Regions from separate parts of the Homo sapiens genome. Here all the other regions are linked to region 1. The links are contacts of gene promoters, found by promoter capture Hi-C in blood cells and fetal thymus (Javierre and others, 2016). All regions are on one chromosome and are shown on one strand. The core of a region is centred on a gene start or on the middle of the fragment in contact, and the rest is flanking DNA. Distances in the headings are between cores, read along the strand shown. Region 1 holds the start of RPS7 (ribosomal protein S7). Region 2 overlaps ADAM17 (ADAM metallopeptidase domain 17). Region 3 has its middle 6.5 kb from the start of PDIA6. Region 4 overlaps CPSF3 (cleavage and polyadenylation specific factor 3).

What was found. The method cuts DNA at HindIII sites, captures the fragments that hold promoters and counts their contacts. A CHiCAGO score of 5 or more calls a contact.
Region 2: a contact is called between a fragment that was not itself captured here and the fragment with the promoter of RPS7 in region 1, in 1 of 17 cell types (total B cells). The highest score is 7.5, in total B cells.
Region 3: a contact is called between a fragment that was not itself captured here and the fragment with the promoter of RPS7 in region 1, in 1 of 17 cell types (neutrophils). The highest score is 7.5, in neutrophils.
Region 4: a contact is called between a fragment that was not itself captured here and the fragment with the promoter of RPS7 in region 1, in 1 of 17 cell types (total B cells). The highest score is 5.4, in total B cells.

Annotation. Positions count from the first base shown.
Region 1 is chr2:3,573,878-3,577,304 of GRCh38, reverse strand. RPS7 (ribosomal protein S7) reads right to left here and starts at 2,045. Exons shown (of 7, transcript NM_001011.4): 1 at 1,955-2,045; 2 at 1,621-1,713; 3 at 1,417-1,488; 4 at 675-818. The coding sequence starts at 1,695. LOC124907726 (a long non-coding RNA gene) reads left to right here and starts at 2,196. Exons shown (of 2, transcript XR_007086196.1): 1 at 2,196-3,170. RefSeq lists a silencer at 1,499-1,788 and enhancers at 1,340-1,916, 1,917-2,492. The HindIII fragment of the contact is 5,628 bases long and covers 1-3,385 here.
Region 2 is chr2:9,541,243-9,544,685 of GRCh38, reverse strand. It overlaps ADAM17 (ADAM metallopeptidase domain 17), which reads left to right. Exons shown (of 19, transcript NM_003183.6): 2 at 1,401-1,533. Among named protein-coding and RNA genes, the nearest start is that of ADAM17, 13 kb to the left of the region's middle. RefSeq lists an enhancer at 2,732-2,911. The HindIII fragment of the contact is 1,176 bases long and covers 1,408-2,583 here.
Region 3 is chr2:10,817,636-10,821,000 of GRCh38, reverse strand. It overlaps a transcript of PDIA6 not described here. Among named protein-coding and RNA genes, the nearest start is that of PDIA6, 6.5 kb to the right of the region's middle. RefSeq lists an enhancer at 89-1,288. The HindIII fragment of the contact is 3,696 bases long and covers 163-3,365 here.
Region 4 is chr2:9,426,417-9,429,575 of GRCh38, reverse strand. It overlaps CPSF3 (cleavage and polyadenylation specific factor 3), which reads right to left. Exons shown (of 18, transcript NM_016207.4): 2 at 748-811. Among named protein-coding and RNA genes, the nearest start is that of CPSF3, 4.3 kb to the right of the region's middle. The HindIII fragment of the contact is 3,044 bases long and covers 366-3,159 here.

The sequences.
Region 1 (3,427 bases), core at 796-3,295:
AAGTTCAGTGGCGGGATCTCGGCTCACTGCAAGCTCCACCTCCCGGGTTCACGCGATTCTCCTGCCTCAGCCTCCCGAGTAGCTGGGACTACAGGCGCCCACCACCACGCCCAGCTAATTTTTTGTATTTTTTAGTACAGACGGGGTTTCACCGTGTCAGCCAGGATGGTCTCGATCTCCTGACCTCGTGATCCGCCTGCCTCAGCCTCCCAAAGTGCTGGGATTACAGGAGTGAGCCACAGGGCCCGGCCTGTAACAGGTTTCTTAGTTTGATCATCTATGTAAGCAACCCACTAGACTTGTGGAAATTTAAATATGGGAAATCATTTTCATAACTCAAAACACAGCAGTCTGTCACTTTACAGACTTCTTGTTTCGACTCTTAATTAAAGAACGTACTTTATCTTTCTTTTTAAAACTTATTTTTTCTATTTTTTGTAGACAGGGTCTTACCATGTTGCCCAGGCTGGTCTCTACAGTGATCCACCCGCCTCCACCTCCCCGTGCTGGGATTACAGGCCTAAGCCACGGCGCTCTGCCTGTACTTTATCTTTCTACCCAATTGGATTCATAAAAGGATTGTTTTCATGACTCCAACTACCAATGCAGTCTAAATACAAGCAATTTTAGCAAAATTCACAAACAGAAACGTGCTGCAACAGTAGAACAGATACCTGAGCGATAAAGACGACATGCTTCCCACTGAACTTTTTCTCCAATTCGCGTACTAGCCGGACTTGGATTTTCTGGAAAGATTTCAGTTGAGGAACGGGAACAAAGATTATGATAGCTTTCCGACCACCACCAACTTCAATTTCCTAAAGAAAAAAACAAAAATCCACTGTGTTAACTGCTTCAGAAAGTAAACGTTGTGGTCAAATTAGAGGATAAGAAGACCTTATCACTAACACCGTAGCTGCACTACAAACTAATACTAGTTTTGAGTTAATCATAAATGCATCCTTCGGAAATGTTCTCATCTCTCTCCAACCTTCACATTTCCTTATTCCAGGAAGGGAGACTGTTCAGGCCAGGAGGCCAATCACTACCACTTCTGCACCCCCACTTGCGGCAACTCCGGGCTAAGGGTAGAGAGAATCTCATCCTGAGCTCCCCACAGCTCTTTGCCGTATCTATAACTAAGTAAGGGCAAATAAGGTCCGAAATGGGCCCAGGCCCTCCCTACTCCACGTTTCTCCACCGCCCGCATGTGGACAGCTTAAGCCGCAGGGTACCTGCAACCCCACTCCCCGCACCTGGGCGGTATCACTCCCAAACAACACGGCCGAACCTGAGTTCAGGTTAGGCGGCCAGGCGGCAAGTCATCATCAACCGTAACCCAGGTCCAACCCTCTCAGGCACTGCGCGGGGAGACGCGCCGCAACCTCCCTCCCAGCCGAGGGAGCGCCAGCTTACCTTAGCTGCCGTAATATTCAGCTCCCTGAGCTGAGCCTTGAGGTCCGAGTTCATCTCCAGCTCCAGAAGAGCCTAAGAAGCAACGAACAGCAGGACCGACCCTGAGCGCGCGTCCGAGCACCCCGGGCCCAACACACGCGCGGCCGCCTCCCCTCCCGGGCGGGGCGCCTCCCCCCACCCCAGACCCCAGGGAAACCCTCTCACCTGGGAGATGCCGGACTCGAACTCGTCCGGCTTCTCGCCATTGGGCTTCACGATCTTGGCGCTCGAACTGAACATGGCTTTCTCCTGGGAGAACTGAAGGCACAGCGGTCAGCGTTACGCGGCCCGGGCTGCAGGCGCCGCTGGCTCGCCCTCCCGCCCGCACCCCCCGGCCAGGCCCCGCTCGCCCCGCAGAAGCCATCGGAAAGCACAGGGCGGGTAATCGGCTGTATCCCCACCCTGTGAGCAAGGCTCGCCCCTCCAGGGCCTGACTCCAAAAGGCGTTTTCCTCAACCCAAGAAGAAAAGTTCTGTCGGAGAGCAGGCCGCCAACCTACCTTGCCGAGCGCCGGCTTAGGAAGAGACCCAAATCTCGCGAGAGCACGTCAAAATCCGGCGTCCGAAGGCAAGAGGCGGAAACAGCGCGAGGAGGAGGGCGGAAACCGGAACATCACTGAGAAGCGGTAGGAGGCTAGAGAGTCCCAGGAAGCGGCTCTGGGGACGAGTGTCTTGGTAACGCTTTTCCGCCCTAGGATTCGTACTTTGGTGCCGTTTCCGAGCGTTCCGGTACCGGCTCCCAAGGTTCCCGTCTTCAGTGCAGGTTGCAGGCGGGAACCGGCCTCGTCCCAGCCCTGGGCCTGGGAGAGAGAAGGAGGCCGAAGAAAACCAACTTCGGCAACCTCCGGAGACAGGACGTTTAAAAAAGGCTAACTTGGCTGGGCGCTGAGGCTCACGCCTGTAATCCCAGCACTTTGGGAGGCCGAGGCAGGAGGATCACTTGAGCTCAGGAACCAGCCTGGGCAACATGGCGAGACCCCATGTCTACAAAAAAAAAAAAAAAAAAATTAGCCAGTCATGGTGGTGCGCGCCTGCAGTCCCAGCTACCCCGGAGGCCGACGCGGGAGGATCGCTGGAGCCGAAAGGTCGAGGCTGCCGTGAGCCGAGGTTGCACCACTGCACTCCAGCCTGGGCGACAGCGCAAGACCCTGTCTAAAAATAAATTTAAAAAAAATTGCGAGGCCTTCATTCTATGCTAGTACTGTACTAGGTGCTAATTATTAAGTAAAACCGACTGAACTCTTGCCCTCATGGAGCTTACAGTTCAGTGGAGAAGACATTACCTAAAGCAGTATGACTAAATATATAATGACATATTGTAATAACTTACATAACAGTACAATGAGAGGGTGGGGAGGGATTATTTATGCTTTAAGAAGTCGGGAATCCTGGAACGGAATGACATTAGACTGAGACACGGAAGAGCCGCAGGATCTATTGCTGGGGAAGAGCATTCCAGACAGGGAGGAACTCGTGCCGAATGATCCCGCTGTGGACAGGGAATTTAATCTGAGCTTCGGTTTCCTCTTCTGTCAAATGTCATGCAAGAGTTACTTTCAGCCGTGGTCCAGGCACTGTGAAAAATGCAGAAGCCACACTAGGTGCCCTCTCTCAGGATTCCCAACCACCTTTACCAAGCAGAGATGGTATTCATCCCACATTTTTAATGCTAGATATGCTCCCGCCCGGTGCTTCTCTAATAATGTTTTTTAAAAGGTAAGTGACTGTCTCCTTGGAAAATTAAGGATAACTTGAAGTTTCTTCCAGATAGAAAGTAAACTACAGCTGCGTCTACAATCTCATCTGGGCAGTCGTTCTGAGCCCTTTTGTCGAACTAGGTCCATTTCCTTACTCCACATGCACTTTTCGACCTGGCTTTTATCTCTGCTGCTCTATAAAAGTAGTAATCTAAAAGTTCATCCAGTAAAGCTTTTTCTCTGTGAACCTATCACTTGAGAACAAAAAAAATTAAA
Region 2 (3,443 bases), core at 746-3,245, 6.0 Mb before region 1:
CCTGGCTAATTTTTTGTATTTTGGTAGAGACTGGGTTTCACCATGTTTGCCAGGATGGTCTCCATCTCCTGACCTTGTGATCCCCCTGCCTTGGCCTCCCAAAGTGCTGGGATTACAGGCGTGAGCCACCGTGCCCAGCCCGGCCTTTTTTCCCCCGCCTAGAGATGGAGTCTTGCTCTGTCGCCCAGGCTAGAGTGTAGTGGTGCAATCTCAGCTCCCTGCAACATCTGCCTCCTGGGTTCAAGCGATTCTCCTGCCTCAAACTAGCTGGGATTACAGGCATGCACCACCATGCCCGGCTAATTTTGTATTTTTAGTAGAGACAGGGTTTCACCATGTTAATCAGGCTGGTCTGGAACTCCTGGCTTCAGGTGATCCTTGGCCTCCCAAAGTGCTGGGATTACAGGTGTGAGCCACCATGCATGGCCTCATTTGGGAAACTTTTGATATCAGAATCTTAGGTTTTTCATTAGAGATTGTCAGATTTCCATATTCCTCTGGAAGGTAAAGGCCTAATTGCTAGCATTCTGGAAGCCAGTTAGGGTAGGAGGGTAGGAGGGTAGGGTATTGGGTAGAGGATAAAGAAGGGGTTTGGGAAAGGTGGGGGGTGTCTCTTGGCAGTTGTATGGTTAAATTGAGTTTTTGTTTTATTTAGTGATATGTGTTTTTTGGGTACATGTGATATTTTGATACCTGTGTATAATATGTAGTGATCAAATCAGGGTGATTGGGATACCCATCATTTGAAACATCTTTTCTGTGTTAGGAATATTACAAGTCTTCTAGCTGTTTTGAAGTATACAATAAATTGTTAACTATAATTTCTGTACTGTACTATCAAATATTAGAACTTACTAATCAAACTGTATTTTTGTAACACTAACCACTTTCTGTTCATCTCCACCACTCCCACTTCCCTTCTCAGCCTCTGGTAACCACCATTCTGCTGTCTACCTCCACGAGATCCACTTTTTTAGCTTCCACACATGAGTAAGAGTCTTTCTTTTAAAACTGGTTTTGTGAGCATATTTAACATCAGTAGCAATAAACTTGTATTTTAAGCTCCTGTTGCTGTATTTTGAGGACCTTCTAAGTCCATTGGAAGGATTTTGAATACCATAGTGTCTGCAGTGATAGTTGTTGAAAGAAAGGGAAGGCATCAGTGCAAATATTTTTAGACAGTTTTTAAAGAGACTCAAGTCACCCAATTTGTCTTCTAAAAATCCTGATTTTGGAAGAGGCAGTGGAGTTTCTGTTGATAAAAAATGATTTATAGTTTGTGCTTGGCACTTCCTAATGGATTACATCAGGAAAGATTTATTGTCTGGCACTCTCATTTTAACGATACTACAATTGATTATTAGGTTTAGATGCTAATACCTTTTTTACCTTTATTTCAGAGAAGCTTGATTCTTTGCTCTCAGACTACGATATTCTCTCTTTATCTAATATCCAGCAGCATTCGGTAAGAAAAAGAGATCTACAGACTTCAACACATGTAGAAACACTACTAACTTTTTCAGCTTTGAAAAGGTAATTTGAATTATTCATGGAATAATGTTGGGGCACTGGGGGCTTGGTTTGGCAAAAACAAAAAAGTAAGGGTATCTACTGAAATCTTGGGAAATTACATTTTAAAGATTTGTAATTAATTTCCAGTATAATGCTTATTCTAAAATTCATACTGGGGCTGGGTGCAGTGGCTCACGCCTATAATCCGAGCACTTTGGGGGGCCAAGACATGTGGATTGCTTGAGCTCAGGAGTTTGCCCAAGCTCAGCCTGGGCAACATGGCAAAACCCCGTCTCTACTAAAAGTACAAAAATTAGGCATGGTGACACGTGCCTGTAATCCCAGCTACTTGGGAGGCTGAGGCAGGAGAATCACTTGAACCAGGGAGGTGGAGGCTGCACTAGCCGAGATGGTGCCACTGCACTCCAGACTGGGCAACAGAGTGAGACTCTGTCTCAAAAAATAAATAAATAAAATAAATAAAGTTCATACTGATGAGTATTTTTAAAAAAGTAAATAGATATTGCAGAGGTGTTAATGATGGTAACGATGTTTAGAAAATTCTAACATAATTTAAATTAATTGAATGCTTATAAAACCTTTTGTTTTTGGTGCTACTTTATAACCATCAATCATGTGCTAAATATTATCTTTATATATGAAGAGATAAAGATTTTGTTCAGGACCCCACAGCCTGGTGGTGAGCTGGGTCTAGATTTTACTGTTCTATTTATTTATTTAGCTAACTAGTTACTTAGTTTCCAGGATTCTTTAACCTGCTTCATATTTATTTATTTTTAAAAACAGGGTCTTGCCATGTTGCCAAGGCTGATCTTGAACTTCTGGGCTCAGGTGGTCTTTCCATCTTGGCCTCCCAAAGTGCTGGGATTACAGGTGTGAGCCACCATGCCTGGCCCAAATTTAATATTCTTTCTACATTGAGTTCCTCTTACTTCTTAGCATAAATTGATGGATATGTTCTATTTCAGTAGTAATTTTAATACCACGTATTGTTTTGCACATTGAAATGTTAAATAATTGCAGGCCTCTTTTTAAAGTCTTTAGGAAGCTTTATTCAGTATCAAAAAACAGACACATGGAGAATTGACTGAATTATTCTTTATTTATTTATTTTTTTGAGAGTCTTGCTCTGTCGTCCAGGCTGGAGTGCAGTTGTGTGATCTTGGCTCACTGCAACCTCTGCCTCCTGGGTTCAAGCGATTCTTGTGCCTCAGCCTCTCAAGTAGCTGGGACTACAGGTGCACAGCACCACGCCTGGGTGATTTTTGTTATTTTTAGTAGAGACAGAGTTTCACCATGTTGGCCAGGCTGGTCTTGAACTCCTCACCTCAAGTGATCCACGATCTCGGCCTCCCAAAGTGCTGGGATTACAGACAGGGGCCACTGCATCTGGCCATCTTTATTCTTTATATAGGACAAGCCTTCTCAACTATGTTAAAAAATAAAAGGAATATGTGCGTCTGGTTTAAAAAACAAGCCATGGAGGATATGCAAAGTTTTTACTTCTAACTCAGTTAGACTTCTCAGACCCAGAGAGGTTTCCTTTGTAAACTTCCAATTTTTTGTTTTGTTTTGTTTTTTGTTTTTTGAGACAGAGTTTTTGCTCTTGTCGCCCAGACTGGAGTGCAATGGCACGATCTTAGCTCACTGAAGCCTCCACCTCTCGGGTTCAAGCAGTTCTCCTGCCTCAGCTTCCCGAGTAGCTGGGATTACAGGAGCCCACTGCCATGCTCAGCTAATTTTTGTATTTTTAGTAGAGATGAGGTTTCACCATGTTGGCCAGGATGGTCTTGAACTCCTGACCTCAGGTGATCCACCTGCCTCAGGCTCCCAATGTGATGGGATTACAGGTGTGAGCCACCGTGCCCGACCCAAAATATTTTAATGCATGTTTTTTGCCTATAGGTCTC
Region 3 (3,365 bases), core at 761-3,260, 7.2 Mb before region 1:
CCTGGGCCCAACGACCTGCTTAACCAGGGTCAGTTTCCAAACCCAGGTCCTGAAGTGGCAGCTTCCTCTTCCTGACTCTTAGGACGCTCACTCTCAGAGCACAGCTTCCAGAGGAGAGAAGATACCCCCAGCATCCATGAGAAGAGACCTCCGGGAGAAGCTTGTGTGGGTGTGCCGACCACTGGCCCCAGTTGAGGTCCCAGCCAACATCAGCTCCGACTTCCAGCCATGTGAGTGAACTGGCCCAGCTCCCTGGCTTCGGGCCACCCCAGCTGGTGCCGCTGATACAGGAGGTAGAAAGAAATTATTTAGACAGATAGTGAGGACAAAAGAGTCCTCGACAGAACTTCCCTTCTAACAAAAAACAGCTCAAGAAATTATTTTTTTCCTAACGAAGAATAGCCTGAAAAATCAAACTACAGACACAGATAAACAAAGACAACTAGAAAAACTAGAAACTTACACAGGGGAATGCCAACGATGACATCTATAGAAACGAGGCTACCTGGGGGCTGGACATGTCCACCATGGAAGCTCCATCTTCCCCTTCTTTGTTAACACGTGTACAGTAAAAAAGAAATGGGCAACATGACAATTTAGACTGAAAACACACCTGTAATAAAATACTGGGGTGGGGGTTGCCAGAAATGTACACCTTATACAAATGACACACCTGGTCCTAATCAATTTTTCATGCCCTCTGTAGATCAGACACCACCTCCCCAGCGACTCATCTATAAAACACCCCACATTTAACCACAGATCAACAACCCATTTTTCCGGGACCCCCTTCTATAACAGAGAGCTATTCTCTCTCTTTCATCTATTAAACTTCCGCTCTTAACCTAACTCTTCGTGGGTCCACGTCTTTAATCTCCATGACCATGAGACAACGAACCACAGGTATTACCCCAGACAATGAGGCCACTTCACTATGCCAAGAACACCTCTGGACTTCAGTGTCTCCCTCGGTAAAGTGAGACTAGTCATATCTAACTGCAGGGCTGCTGTGAGGATTAAACGAAACACAACACATGGTGGCCCCATCTAATAGAGACCAGCAGGACAAACCTGCAGACCAGCAGAGGCGGGCTTCTCGGATCACTGCAACAAGAGAGGGCACCTCAGAGGACCCATGGGGCAACTCTAACCAAGCAAGCCAACAGGATTACCATAGGGTGTTGGAGAAGGGAAAGTTGTAGGTAAGATTTAAATAAAGCAGTGTTTAATAGGCTCAAAGCAAAACACAACTGTGTATAAAGGAATTACGGTCAGACCTGGGCTACGAAGTGGATGGAGGTTCCTCTTTCCTTGGAAATGATGAAGTTAAGACAAATGTGCAATGTTGTGTCCAGAAGGCCCTGGGTTGGAAATCAAGGCAGCTTCTCAGTGTTAAGATGACCCAGGTCCTTCAGACAAAAGAAGGATGTTCCATTCTTACTCTATTTATCTCAAATAGCACAGTTTATAACAGTCTGTGCTTTTTCAGGAATAAGATTTTTCAGCACTATAACTTTTCGTTGATTAACAAAAGCAGTTTTAGCAGGTTCACAGATGTAAATACGTGGAGCCTGGCATATGGTGAACATTCGGTAATAGTTTCCCCATCCCCACCTCACTCATCTCCTCTTCTCTCTCACTTTCAGGCTCACCAACTTCTCCTGCCCACTCCCTATCAAGGAAAAGTCCCATAATGTATCCATCAACCACCATGGCTAATGCACCCGGTAAGTAGAGGAAACTCCCAGAGTAGGAGCCTCCATCTGTTCACAACAGCCAAAAGGTGAAAACAACCCAAGTGTCCACTAACAGACGGATGGATAAACAAAATGAGGTCTAGTCATATGATGGAATGTGACTCTGCTTTAAGAAGGAAGGAAATTGACACATGCCACAGCATGAATGGACCTTGAAGACGTTAGGCTAAGTAAAATCAATCACTCACAAAAGGACAGTACTATAGGATTCTACTTACATGAGATGTCTAGAGTAGTTAAATTTATAAAGACAGAAAGTAGGATGACAGTTGCCAGGGGTCAGGGGGAGGGGGAATGAGGATTTGGCATTTAATGGGGATAGAGTTTCAGTTTGGGGTGATAAAAAGCTCTGGAGATGAAGGTTGTACAACGATGTGAGCGCATTTAATGCCATGGAACTGTACACTTAAAAATGGTTAAAGGCCAGGTATGGTGGCTCACGCCTATAATCCCAGCACTTTGGGAGGCTGAGGTGGGTGGATCACCTGAGGTCAGGAGTTTGAGACCAGCCTGACCAACATGGCAAACCCCTATCTCTACTAAAAAAAATACAAAATTAGCTAGGCATGGTGGCATAAGACTGTAATCCCAGCTACTCAAGAGGCTGAGGAAGGAGAATCGCTTGAACCCAGAGGCAGAGGTTGTAGTGAGTCGAGATAGTGCAATTGCACTCCAGCCTGGGCAACAAGAGCAAAACTCCATCTCAAAATAAATAAATAAATAAATAAATAAATAAATAAATAAATAAATAAATAAATAAATTAAATGGTTAAAGTGAGCTGGGCACAGTGGCTCACGCCTGTAATCCCAACACTTTGGGAGGCTGAGGTGGGCAGATCACTTGAGGCCAGGAGTTGAGACCAGCCTGGGCAAAATAGTAAAACCCCATCTCTACAAAAAAAAAATACAGAAATTAGTCAGGTGTGTTGTGGCTTTCATCTGTAGTCCAGCTGTTTGGGAGGCTGAGGTGGTAAGATTGCTTGACACTAGGAGGTTGAGGCTGCAGTGAGCTATGATCACACCACTGTACTCCAGCCTGGGTGACAGAGTGAGACCCTGTCTCAAAAAAAAAAAAAAGTTAAAGTGGTAAATTTTATTTTATGTTATGTGCGTTTTATCAGTATTTTTAAAAGGCTTCATCTGCCTATCCCCACTGAAAATAAGACTCGACTCTACCTATGATCTGAACCTCAGAATGAATGAGAAAGTCCAGAGAGGAGCACTGTGTGTCTCCTGAGCACCCCTAGGAAGAGGTACATGTCCCCTGTCGGATCTACCCTGTTCATTCTGTGGGTACGTTAGCCCAGATTCTTCACCCTGAGAACATTAAGCCCTGTATTAGTCAAAGTCAAGCTAAACTCCTGTGGCAAGTTATTCCAAAATACAATGGCTAAAACTATAGAATCTTCTCTCTAAAGTAACAGCTACATGGTGAGCCATCCAGGTTGGAGGGTGGCACTGATCTTCCCGGTCATTCTAGACTTGGGTTCCTTCCCTGTCACTGCTCCAGTGGCCCCAAGGTCCCTGTGGGGGTCTGCATGGTAGAAGCTGGGGTGCCCCAAGTCCAACAATTCCGCCTGGTGGAAGAGGAACAGGACCTGGCTAAGC
Region 4 (3,159 bases), core at 638-3,137, 5.9 Mb before region 1:
GACTCTCGTGAGAAGATAATAATTAGAAATGGGAAACTTACCTGATCAGGGTAATTTAAATATTTTAAGGCATTAGGGAACAAATTCTTAAGACTCAGTCATTAAAGTTACTTATTTTTATGGCGTTACTACCAAATTAACAAAACAGATGACTAAAAGGATGACTATGTCTGACCTATACATGTTCTTTTCAGATTGGGAGGAGTTGAGAAGAAAGAGGAATCAAAGGAATCTGAGACACAGAACTGACTTTCTAATGAGTACCTTAGAAACTATCTCCTCTAACCCCTCTACCTTTCAGGCTTAGAGAAGCAAAGTGACTTGGCCAAGGCCGGCAGCCCCAGTGGGACCTGGGGATCCAAGCTTCTAGGCCAAGGCTTGATCCCCACATGCTGGAGGCGGCTAGAGCTCTCAGTGTGTTCAGAGTGCTTGGGCCCTTGGGATCTTCCACTGGGGGTGGGGCAGTTAGGCTGGCTCAACCCTTCAGGAGTGGAAGAGGGACTTTGAAGAGGTAACAGTTCAACAGATCTAGCTGACAATTTTACAGTCATAGAATATATCTTCTTAATCAACTAAATTACTAAGTAGAAGTGTGTATTAGTTTTTCTCATTAACACTATACAGCATAGATTACATGTACTATAACATTTTTCTGGGAGCTAAAAAGATAACTAGTCTATGAGAAAAGACTAACACCCAATACAGACAGAGCCATACTATTAAACTGAGTACAAAAATAGTAATTACCATTATTTTTCTTCCTTTGAACTCGAGAATAATACATGATCTTCCTACTTCTTGCCCAGCTCCACTGTAAATATTCAAGGGGAGAAAAAGAAGGATTAAAAAAAATCAAAACCAAGTCCAATAAACTTACACTTTTTTACAATGTACACTACATGCCATCTGATGACAGCACCTCACTGAAAAATTCTGAGACGTAAGAGAGTTCTACAAAATCACAAAGACAGGGAAGAACAGTGTCCACATGAGAACAGATGAAAACTGATCCTTGGGAGTCCAGGGATCTTGCAGTTCTTAAAATTAAGAGAGAAGGCGGTACAGATCCAAGAAGCCCAAAGGTTTGGGCTTGATTTAAATTCAATTTTCTGAATTTTAGGATTAAATTATAATGTATTTAAAATGTAAACTAGCAGTTACGCAGATTATATAATAATACTTCTAGAATTAGCACTTAAGTAGAAAGCCATAAGCATTTCAACACTGTCATCTTCTTTAAGATCATAATGTGTATTTGCCAAATGGCTTAAATTTAAATGGCCGGGTGCGGTGGCTCACGCCTGTAATCCCAGCACTTTGGGAGGCCGAGGCAGGCAGATCACGAGATCAGGATATCGAGACCCATCCTGGCTAACACGGTGAAACCCCGTCTCTACTAAAAATACAAAAAATTAGCCAGGCGTGGTGGCGGACACCTGTAGTCCCAGCTACTCGGGAGGCTGAGGCAGGAGAATGGTGTGAACCCAGGAGGCGGAGCTTGCAGTGAGCTGAGATCGCGCCACTGCGCTCCAGCCTGGGCAACAGAGCGAGACTCTGCCTCAAAAAAAAAAAAAAAAAATTTTTTTTTTTAAAATACTTATTCATACTGTGAATTTCAATCACTTTTTCTTCTACTTTCTGTTATTTCAGCATATTTTATACCAACTACTTACATAATTTTTGTTTCTTCTTAATAATTTCAGCCATAATTTGCAATGGTCACAAGGCACACTTTAAGTTAAACCTCATCTTTCAAATCCCTCACCTTCTTTGATGCCTTTTCCCAACCATTCTAGCTCACAATCCACTCACTCACTCAACATTAAGCAGCTTCTATTTGCCAAGCACTGGATTAAGTGCCTAGGACATGGAAATGCCTTACAGGGACCCTGACCTCAAGGAACTCAGTCAGATGGACATGCAATGGATCTATCCCCAAACTGAGATCCTACCTCCAAACAGGTGTTGATACAGAAGATCAAACAACTGTGGATGAGAGCCGCCATAAATTCCTGGCCTTCCACTTTTTAAACATTTTTTATTTGTAATTATTGTGGATACCCTGGCCTTCCACTTTAACTGGCCCTCAATGTTGCCTGGCTGTTTTCTCCATTTCATTTCCATATCAACTATTTTCAAACTTTCTTCCCTTTCCCAAATTTTCCAACCTTCTATCCTCTTCTTCACTTGAGGCATGGGCCATCTTCTGCATCAAAAAAATAAACAGTCCATTTGTAAATTTCCTCAACTTCATGTTGGTACAATAATTAAGAATACATGTACCAACAGGGTACCAACCTGCCCACATCTGTCTCCTTCTATTTCTCCTCTATAGATAGAATAGACCTCTCTTTCCACAATGAAACTTTCCACCATTCTACTCTACGTACTCCCTCCCTCCTTCTGAGGAACTCAACACTGCTGTGTCATTGACATTTTCCTCACTGTCTGCTCTTTACCATCCAATCCAAATTTAAACATACTACAGCCATGTTCATCCCCAAATTAAAATCCCTTGACTCTAAGCTCCTTTAGTTCCCACTTTATTCTTTCCCCAGACCACCTCCCAGGGCAGTGGACCCTCTTGTACTTCCTCACCTTCTACTCGCTCCTCAATTCGCTATACTCTGGCTTTTACCAATCACTTTTCTGAAACTGTCCTTGCTGCTCAGTAGTCATTTCAGTCTTTTTTTTTTTTTTGAGACAAGGTCCCCCTATGTTGCCCAGTCTGGCCTTCAACTCCTGGGCTCAAGTGATCCTCCCGCCTCAGCCTCCCAAGTAGCTGGAACTATAGGTGTCAGTCCCTATCTTGTTCTCTTGGCAGCCGTTGTCACTCCTAAGGAGTACCTGCTCCTTCCTCAAGCACCTCTCCCTTGGCTTCTCTGACCTGATGCTCTCATCTTGTCTTGCTGGCTTTCCTGTTTCCTTCACATATTCAGCCACCTCTGCCTACCCTTTAAATGTTGATATTCCGAGGGTTTGCTCCTTGGCCAACTTCTCAATCTTCATTCTCATCTTTCTGACATGCTAAGGACTTCCAAGCCTGTATTTGTAACCCAGATTGTTCTTCTGAATTCTAGACCTTTAATACATACACGTGACACTAGGTATCTCTACTAGGATCTCTCCCGGGACTTCATATTCAAGATGCCAAACTAG